Linked DNA regions of Homo sapiens: region 2 is linked to region 1. Evidence: promoter capture Hi-C in 16 types of primary human blood cells and fetal thymus (Javierre and others, 2016). All regions are on one chromosome and are shown on one strand. Each heading gives the region's core, a stretch centred on a gene start or on the middle of the fragment in contact. The rest is flanking DNA. Distances are from core to core; before and after follow the strand shown. Region 1 holds the start of CA14 (carbonic anhydrase 14). Region 2 holds the start of CTSK (cathepsin K).

Region 1 (4,716 bases), core at 538-3,037:
GCCCAGCAGCAGTGAAATACCTCCCAGAAGGAACCACATACACAAAGCATTTTAAATTAAAATTTAAAAATTCATAGACGAGCCAGGAGGTGGCGCCTGGCAAGACACGCTATCTGCCTTGGAAATCGGAATCTCAGCTCAGCGCTCCAGGGGAACTCTGTTCCGGCAGAGGTCATTCTGTTCAGACCTCTTCTTTCCTACTAAATCTCTTCTTTCATACCAAGATGTCTCTGCTTTCTTTTTTTGTTTCTTTGTGTTAAGTACCCTGATTCCCGGGAAATCTAATTTATACTTCAAGTCTTTTACTCTTCTTAGATGGGATGGATGGGGCTTTGGGGAACCTCAAAACATAAAACTTTCCTGAAGGGGACAAATAACTCAGAGGGTGATAGGAGAAGAAAAAGGGAAATGACATCAGCAAAATGGCTTGGCTTTGCAGATCAATCACAGGGGATAGAAAGGCACAGTGAGCTCCTGTCTCTGCAGGAGCTGATGATCCAGCACATGCATTATTCTGTTCATTTGGCTTTTATCCTGCTCCCTTATTTAGCTTCTGCTCCCTTTGTTTGGCTATTTATTGCTACTCGGCAGGAGCAAGGAGGGCAGAGGGAGCTTCAGATGGGTGCATCCTCCTGGCTGGTGCCTCTGGTGAAGAGCATGGAGGAGAAAGAGGTTTCAATGTCTGGCTTGAAAGTATCTGTGGGTTTCACATTCTCTAACGAGGGATTTAGGATGTACATTCCAATCGGGATTTCCAGTCCCGTGGGGAGCAAACATCAGTTCACATTCCTGAGACGTGCAGCCTCCATGCTCCACGGACGCAGCTCCTTGGTGGCAGGTTTCATTCAGTGCCACATGTCCTGCCTCAGCCCTTTGTTGGGCTGGAAGGAAGACCCTGAGCCCCTCTTCCATCTGGATCACATGGTCTCTCCAGACCCTCCCCTCTCTTTCTCTGGAAACCACCTTTTTCTGATGGTGGTAGTGATTGTTCCTAAAGTCTCTCCTTTCCTCCTGCCCTGGCCTCTCTGCCGGAGGTCAGTGTCCTCTTCAGTGACAAAAGCCGCCCTAGATCTGGGCTCCCTGGAGAGGGAGGTGGCTGGGTCTGGCAGTTACAGCCGCTGTCTCTCCATGGTGCTGCTACACCCCTCCCCCACTGGGCATACAAATGGGCTTTATCCAGCAAACAACGCTCCCTCCCCGCACTCCCCCCACCCCAGGCCACACAGGCACGTGGACCCAGGCCTCACCGTGGGAAGGGGGTGGTGGCAGGCACAGAAGAGATTGCTCCAGATGAGTTCTCCTTGCCTCACTTCTCTTCCTTAGAACTTAGGACACAACTCAGGTTTTAGTTATTGACTTCCTCCACCCCTCCCCTGCACCCTGAGTCCCTAATTCCTTCTTGTTATATATCTCCTAATTCTGGACTCTTCCCATTCCAGGGCAGCTCAGATTATGCAGGGAATTGGGAACAGGTACCCCCACCATCTGCCGCATACCACCCAGGGAGCTGCTCCTCAGAGGAGAAATCAGGCGGGGGGATGAAAATACAGTGTCCTTTTGAGGGGGCTGAGTTGAACCCCAAAGCCCCTTCCTTGACCCTGCCTGCTCCAGGGAACACCCATCTAAACAGCATCTGTGTGACTAGCAGAGGAAGGAAGAGCTCACCCCAGCTGGGCTCCTGAGCCAGGGCCAGGGCTCCAGTGAAACTTGCCGCGCTCCAGCTCCGAGTGGGGCCATCCTGCATGCCTAATTGGCTATTTAAGGAGCTGTTCACCAGCAGCCCAGGCAGCACCCCCGTCCCCACATACACCAGTTCAGAGCCACCTTAAAAGCAGGAGGCAGTTGTAAAGTCGCTGGCCAGCTAGTGGAGTGGAGACTGCAGAGGGAGATAAAGAGAGAGGGCAAAGAGGCAGCAAGAGATTTGTCCTGGGGATCCAGAAACCCATGATACCCTACTGAACACCGAATCCCCTGGAAGCCCACAGAGACAGAGACAGCAAGAGAAGCAGAGATAAATACACTCACGCCAGGAGCTCGCTCGCTCTCTCTCTCTCTCTCTCACTCCTCCCTCCCTCTCTCTCTGCCTGTCCTAGTCCTCTAGTCCTCAAATTCCCAGTCCCCTGCACCCCTTCCTGGGACACTATGTTGTTCTCCGCCCTCCTGCTGGAGGTGATTTGGATCCTGGCTGCAGATGGGGGTAGGTACAACTAAATGTCTGTGTGTGGATTTGTGCTGATGTTCACATGTCGCCAGGTGTGCTTAATGGGGGGAGGAGAGGTGTGAAAGGAAGCCTAGAGGCTGGAATAATAGGCTCAGAGATGAGGAAAAAAGAGTGGGGTGTGGAGGAGACCACTTCCCTTCTTTACCTTTTGTCTCTCCAGCCTTGTTGTTATTGGAGGTCGGGGAGAACTAGCGGCAGGCAGGCAGAGTGTGTACACATGCAAGTGCTGGAATCTCTTTGCAGGCTACAGATTTTCTCCAGAGCTCTTTCCCCCACTGCCCTGGTCCCAGGCAGGACTCCTGGACTTCTTTATTTACAAACTCCTCCAAATAGGGAGTCAAAGAGGCCTGGAGTAAAAAGATGGATAGATGGGGGTAGGGGGAAGAATACTTCCTGCCCAACTCAGACCCTGATCTCCAATTCATCCCCTTTTGGCCAAGATTCCCTCTTCATTCTGTGGAGCGACTAACTCCCCAGTTATCCTCTGAAAGTGGCAGTAAGAGTCAACATTTGTTTGACATTTTACAGTTTACAAAGGACTTTCAGGAGCTCCCAGGAGATGAGGAGGGATTCTTGGGAGAACAGGCTGAAGCGCTCCAGGAGTGTCCCCAGGAACTCCTAGACCTCATTTTTGTGTTTCCTGTGCCTAGCACAGTGTCCAGCACATACTAGGTGTGTAACTGAGGTTTGTGGAAAGAGCAGGGTGAGGTGGGTGTCCAGAGAGCAGAAGGCAAATGCAGAGAGGATGGGGGCAGGCAGGCAGCCAAATGGAGAGTCACAAATCTCATCTGAGGAGAAAGAAAAAAAGAGGGAAAGAGGAGGAAGAGACAGAATAAGTGTGTTGAGGCTCTGACCAGAGTGGACAGGCACCTTTACAGACCAGGGAGTTTGAGTTGTTGGGGGGTCCCACAGATATGGTAAAATGAGAGGCTGCCTCCAGCTCTCCCTTGGGCTAGCAGAATAGGTCAAGGATAAGAGCAGGACATCTCACAAGTTTGAGGAATTTAAGGGAATAAGAGACAGAGAGAGGAAGGAATTTAGGATTTTTCTCCAGAGTTTCTAGTAGTATGAATATTGCAGCATAAACCATGAAGGCCTTCGTTTTCTTCTTGAGGCAGTTTGGCCGTAGGGAGGGGCTGGACCTGCAGACCCTCAGCCTTTGCGTCAGACAGGACTGCACGAGAGCCTGGCATGTGACCCAGCTGGCAGCTCTCTTCTCTACACACAATGCTTCACTTTCATCCTGTCCCTGCCAGCCTGGCTGCCTGTGCCCACCCACCACCCTCAATCTAGAGTAGACCCTGCCCTGACTCCCACCCTTCCCTAACCATCTCAGAATGTAGGGAGCAGAGCCTCCTGGTGATGAGGAGTTTCCTCTAGAGCTAATGGGACCAGAAAAGAAGAATTTACATATGAGTTTACAGCTCAGTGGCTTTATTCATGCAATTTTTTAAAGCAAAGGAATAATCTCCCCTTCTCCCCTCAGTAGCACCCCCCAACACACACACACTCTAAACTCCTTTCTCCTCCCCGCTTTCTAGTCCCTATCCTTCCAACCCTCTGCCCACACCCTCACCCCACCCACCCCAATCTTCTAAGTGTTAGATTGACTTGGCACAGGTTACAGAAAAGAAAGGGTTGGGCCAATCGCACATTTGGATCCAGGTTAATTTTAGTCTCTGGGCTTTACCTCTTTTCCTTCCTCCTCCCCTTTTACTCGGCAGGCACCAACACAGCCTGGCTGGTGATTTTAAATAGGCCCCCCGACCTTTCCACAGAGGTGTCCGGTTTCAGGGCTTCCTTTGCAAAGTGCTGGAGCAGAGGGAGGAGAGACTGCAGAGAGGGAGGTGGAGCAGTACAGAATGCCAGAGGGAGGGGAGTGTGGAGGCCAGGGTTCTGCCCCAGGCTGCGCTGGCTGTAACCCAAACTATTCTGCCTTGCAGGTCAACACTGGACGTATGAGGGTGAGCAGATCTCAAGGCCTCCCGACAACCCTTTCACACTGGGACCTCCTCACCTGGCAGGAAGACACACTGTGCGGGTGGGAGGAGACTTCCTTTACCTTCTCACCCTAGCTCCTCCCTTCTGGATCTCCTCCTGCCTTGAGTTTCACATATATGGCTCCTAGATCCTGCTCTAATCATCAAATCCTACACCTCCTGATTTGGCAGAAAAGCTAGTTAAGTCCTCAGTAAATCGTGTAGGAGTGAGGGAGCTGGGGTGGAAAGGAAGCTGGGTGGGAACTCTGAGCTTAGCTGCCAGGTCTCCTTCTGGCTCCGTCTATCCTAATCCATCCTACCCCTAACCTGCATCTGAAATTGGGACAGAGCTGGAGGTCAGGGGTGAGGAAGAGGCTGGCAGGATAGTTTCTGACCCTGGGGGAGGTGGAACTCAGTTCCTATGAACTACTGATTAATGACTTAACCAAACTCAAGTTCATGATAAACGGTCAGTGTGAGAGCAAGAAGTGAATGATGAGAAGTCAGGATATCTGA
Region 2 (4,314 bases), core at 1,604-4,103, 550 kb after region 1:
GCTAAGATGAGAGAGCTCAGGTCTCAGCCTTCCTGCCATGCCCCCTCCAGGACCCCAGGCACCTTGTTGTTATATTGCTTCCTGTGGGTCTTCTTCCATAGCTCCCAGTGGGTGTCCAGTATCTCCTCAGGGTACAGAGCAAAGCTCACCACAGGTAGCAGCAGAACCTTGAGCCCCCACATCCTGCAGAAGAATGTAGTTAGGGAAAACTCTTCCATTTGGCAGGGAAACAGAGGAAAACTAGGCTTTATGAGGAAGAGAAAGGTAGACGGAAAAAGGGTGATAAAACAATGATAGTCAGGAGGGGCCTGTGTTTAGATAGGATGCTGGTACATCTGGTTCCAAGGACTTTGATCTAGGGGGATTTAGCCATTTCTCTCTTTCTCTCTCTCTCTCTCTCTCGGGAGATTTAGGCAACACACACTCTCTCTGTTTCTCTCTCTGTCTCTCTCTCTCTCACACACACACACACACACACACACACACACACACACACACACACGTACACAACCAGAAATGGGGGATAGAAACTGGACAATCAGAATGGGCTCAGTGCGTTTCCTCCAGGGTCCCTAGCAGGCTTGGAGACAGACAAATAGCAAGGTGGTAGTGGGGTTCAGAATACACAAAGGAGAGATTTCCGTCTAAGTTTTGCCTCCTGATCATTTCTTCGAGGCGTTCTTCTCTTTCGTGCCTAAATTCTGGTACTTTCCCAGATCTTGTCAGAAGAGGACAAGGGAAAATAGGACAATGTTTCCTGTTTTCTGAGACATTGTATATCTCCTCATTCTCCTTATGCATTTCTTCTTCCTTTTTCTCTCCCTTCCCTCCTTAGGCAGGAAACTGCCCTAATCTTAACCAGATGCTGCGGGCAAGGTTTTTTATTTTTCCCCTAACAACAAAAACCCACTGTGGCTGCCGCAAAGGACAAGAAGCCTCAGATCCAAGGTTTGTTAGAAGAATGTTCAGACTGAAAAGCAATGTTCTATGATGATGAAATTCACAGCTTTTCATAAGTTTACTCTAGTTAGCTTCACTCATTTCTTGCATTGGCTTTCTTAATTACAAATCCTCCATTTTAAGAACAATTTGCAGCCTGCAGCATGACATATGGCTTACACAATTGCTTATAGTCCATTTACATGTAATTTTGCAAACTGGCAAAATGTCCAGTAGGACATTTAAAAACTAGAGTGTTAAGGGCTTTGAGATGTCTCAGTGAACAGGAAGCACTGAGCTACTACCTCCCCATACCACTCTCCTCCTCCTCACTAAGGAGTTAACCGTTTTGATCCTTGTTGGCCAAAGTAGAAAACACTGCAGAAAGGCCACTCTTGAAGGATGGGGAAATGATTCCCTATATACTTTGCTTTTACTAACAATCATGTATGTATATATATAAATCATACAAGGAATTCTACAGATTTCCAGGCAGATTTTATTTAGCCAGGGAATGACCTAAGAAGTGCATCTCTGTTTTCATCTGCAGAGGCTAAAAGTTTATTGTGATCCTCAAGTCACTACATCCCTAATACTCAGAGAATTGACAGGAATGAAAAGCTAAAAGATCTAGGAAGTTGCAAACGTTACCTGCTGATGGAAATCTGTTGTCTGGCTTCGTTTCGGCAGCAAAGTGTGGGCACACCATCAGGGGTGCTAGATTTATTCCATCGGGATTGCGGAAGTCAGCTCCAGTGATCGGCTGGAAAATTTGGGTAAGAGGAGGAGGCGGGGATAGAAATGCTGAGAGAAGGAAGGGTAGGGAGGAGGGAAGGAGGCAGTGGATTTGCAGTGTTTCTGTGTGTATGCAGCATGTGTGCCAGGGTAGGGAATTACTAGCTATTTAGTCTCACAAGACTGTCTTTGGTGGCAAATAACAAGACCTCAATATCTATTGACTCAAATAGGAGCTTACTTTCTCTTTTGGTGAGTAAAAGGAAGGACACAGCCCTAGTCTCTCCCATCCTTCTTCTTCAATATCTTTATTTTAATATTGGGGGATTATATCTTTTCCTACCCCTTTCCTGTTAGGATTTACCTCTCCAACATTGAAACCTATTTTCATATTTGTGTCTGACTCTCACCTCTGGGATGCGGTAATGAACATAAAAGGCTATAAAAGAATAATGTAATGGAAGCCATAGGCTCCAGAATTCTTTGTATTTTTATAAGCTTGTTGGTTGCAAGTTGTCATTACTTCCAGGCAGAATAGTTTTCCCAGCCTAATGTGGTTTTGCTGAAGGAGGATATGCCCAGAAAGTCCAGATGAAACTGTCTTTAAAAGTAACCAAAAACAGCAGTCCTGGTTATTTATGACAGCACTTGAATCAATGCCGTAAGTTCTGATGGACTCACATGTGACTCTGTTGCTAAAACTCTCAGGTGGTGGGATGCCCGATAAACATCATCTGTCTCAATTAAAATCCCCAATCTAGGACAAGTCACATGAGCTTCTCCAAATGCTTCCCCAACATCCAAGCATGTGACAGATCATAAGAATCTAGCTGATTCCTCAAACCACACCCCAAACTTCATTTTCTTCCATAAACAGATGTGGGGAAGGAGAAAAAAAGGCTTCTTGGAATAGAAAGGATAATAAATGGGATCTGTAATAGACTCAGTTTCTAGCTGGATTCCATGCATAAACCCTCAAAAATACAGGCTTATGCCTCTGGATTTTAAGAGCTGCTAACAGGCTAGGCGCAGTGGTTCACGCCTGTAATCCCAGGCCTTTGGGAGGCCAAAGCATGTGGATCACCTAAGGTCAGGAGTTCGAGACTAGCCTGGCCAACATATAGTGAAACCCCATCTCTACTAAAAAAAAAAAACACAAAAATTAGCTGGGCATGGTGGCACACACCTGTAGTGCCAGCTACTTGGGAAGCTGAGGCAGGAGAATTGCTTGAACCCAAGGGGCAGAGGTTGCAGTGAGCCAAGATCGTGCCACTGCACTCCAGCCTGGGTAACAGAGCGAGACTCCATCTCTCACACACACACACACACACACACACAAAAAAAAAAAAAAAAAAAAAAGTTGCTAATGAACCAACATAGTCTCCTAGAGGGAAACCAGGTCCAGACTTGAACAGTTTAAATTTCACTCATTTTAATCCAGAAAAGGACATACTGGGGGAAGGCATCCAGATGTGCCCTAGTGGTTTTCAAGTCCCGACTCTTCCCCTCTCTCCCAAGAACCCAGGCAACGCCCACCCCAAAACCCCCACCTCATGGTCAGAGCATTCCTGCTGATGTTACTCAGAATGTGTCAGGATCAGGAGGACAAGTGAGGGGGGAGGCGTGCAATGTGATCAGAACCCTATGATTTCTGATTCCTGAAATTAAAGACACAATGTGCCTTATGTTTGTATGTCTGGAGCTTAAACTATAGATTCCTCTGGTTGTGGGTGCCTGTTGTTTATGAACTGGAAAGGAATGATAAAGCCGCAATCAAGATCACACAACACAAGAAATTTTACAAAAGGAAAAAATATTTTGTTTGAAAATCTTTGCTACATGTCATTATTTTTGCCACTGTAAAGCTTAGCACAGATGCCAGCAATACAGAAATGGCCAACAAGAAAACAAAACAGTCAAAAATAAAACCCTGAAGGAAAAGCAAAAACAAAACCCCCAGAGCATCTTCTCGCTATCCTCCCCTTCCCCAAAAGCCCTATAATAACTGTACAATATTATAGTCCTGATCACATTTAAAAAGTCGATTATTAAAAAACAAGGGTTCCATTGGAAACTCAACTTTTTGGTTTCGTAAATTGTGATATAAATATATATGTATACTGTAAGTGTGCACATAGAATAAAAAAATAAACTGTCTCCTTTTTTACTCCACTACCTGGCACCAGACTGGAGACATAAGGAAGGGAAACTCAGCAAATGGACATTCCTTTGGCCTCTTCAAGGCCACCCTTGCTCCTCAGTCCCCTATGACTACATTTAATATATCTTCTCATTAATTCAGTCTTGCACTTTAGCTACTGGCCAAAGCCAATTTAAAAAAAAAAAAAAAAAAGCTGGTATCTACGACTGTTACCTGAGGAAGGTAAAGGGTGAGGGTAGTAACCTGTATCCGCATTTATATGGCTATTGTTAATTACCAAGTGACCCTGTTGAGATGGGTGTCCAGGCCCCATCTATCATACGGAATTATGATACTTGCACTCTAAAGCAAAACCCAATCTCAAGATTGGAGGGAGCAAAGAGGAAAAACCTCTTAGGGCCAGAGAGACTTAAATCTCAGTTGCTTGCTAAACTGGGTATTTTGAGTATGGGATGAAAGAGGCTACTTTGCAAGAGGGC

The links. The method cuts DNA at HindIII sites, captures the fragments that hold promoters and counts their contacts. A CHiCAGO score of 5 or more calls a contact.
Region 2: a contact is called between a fragment that was not itself captured here and the fragment with the promoter of CA14 in region 1, in 1 of 17 cell types (endothelial precursors). The highest score is 6.5, in endothelial precursors.

The regions. Positions count from the first base shown.
Region 1 is chr1:150,255,987-150,260,702 of GRCh38, forward strand. It overlaps CA14 (carbonic anhydrase 14), which reads left to right and starts at 1,788. Exons shown (of 11, transcript NM_012113.3): 1 at 1,788-2,197; 2 at 4,165-4,185. The coding sequence starts at 2,143. RefSeq lists an enhancer at 1-672. The HindIII fragment of the contact is 8,593 bases long and covers 1-4,716 here.
Region 2 is chr1:150,806,624-150,810,937 of GRCh38, forward strand. It overlaps CTSK (cathepsin K), which reads right to left and starts at 1,637. Exons shown (of 8, transcript NM_000396.4): 1 at 1,591-1,637; 2 at 63-183. The coding sequence starts at 182. It overlaps ARNT (aryl hydrocarbon receptor nuclear translocator), which reads right to left. Exons shown (of 22, transcript NM_001668.4): 22 at 3,090-4,314. The HindIII fragment of the contact is 1,367 bases long and covers 2,171-3,537 here.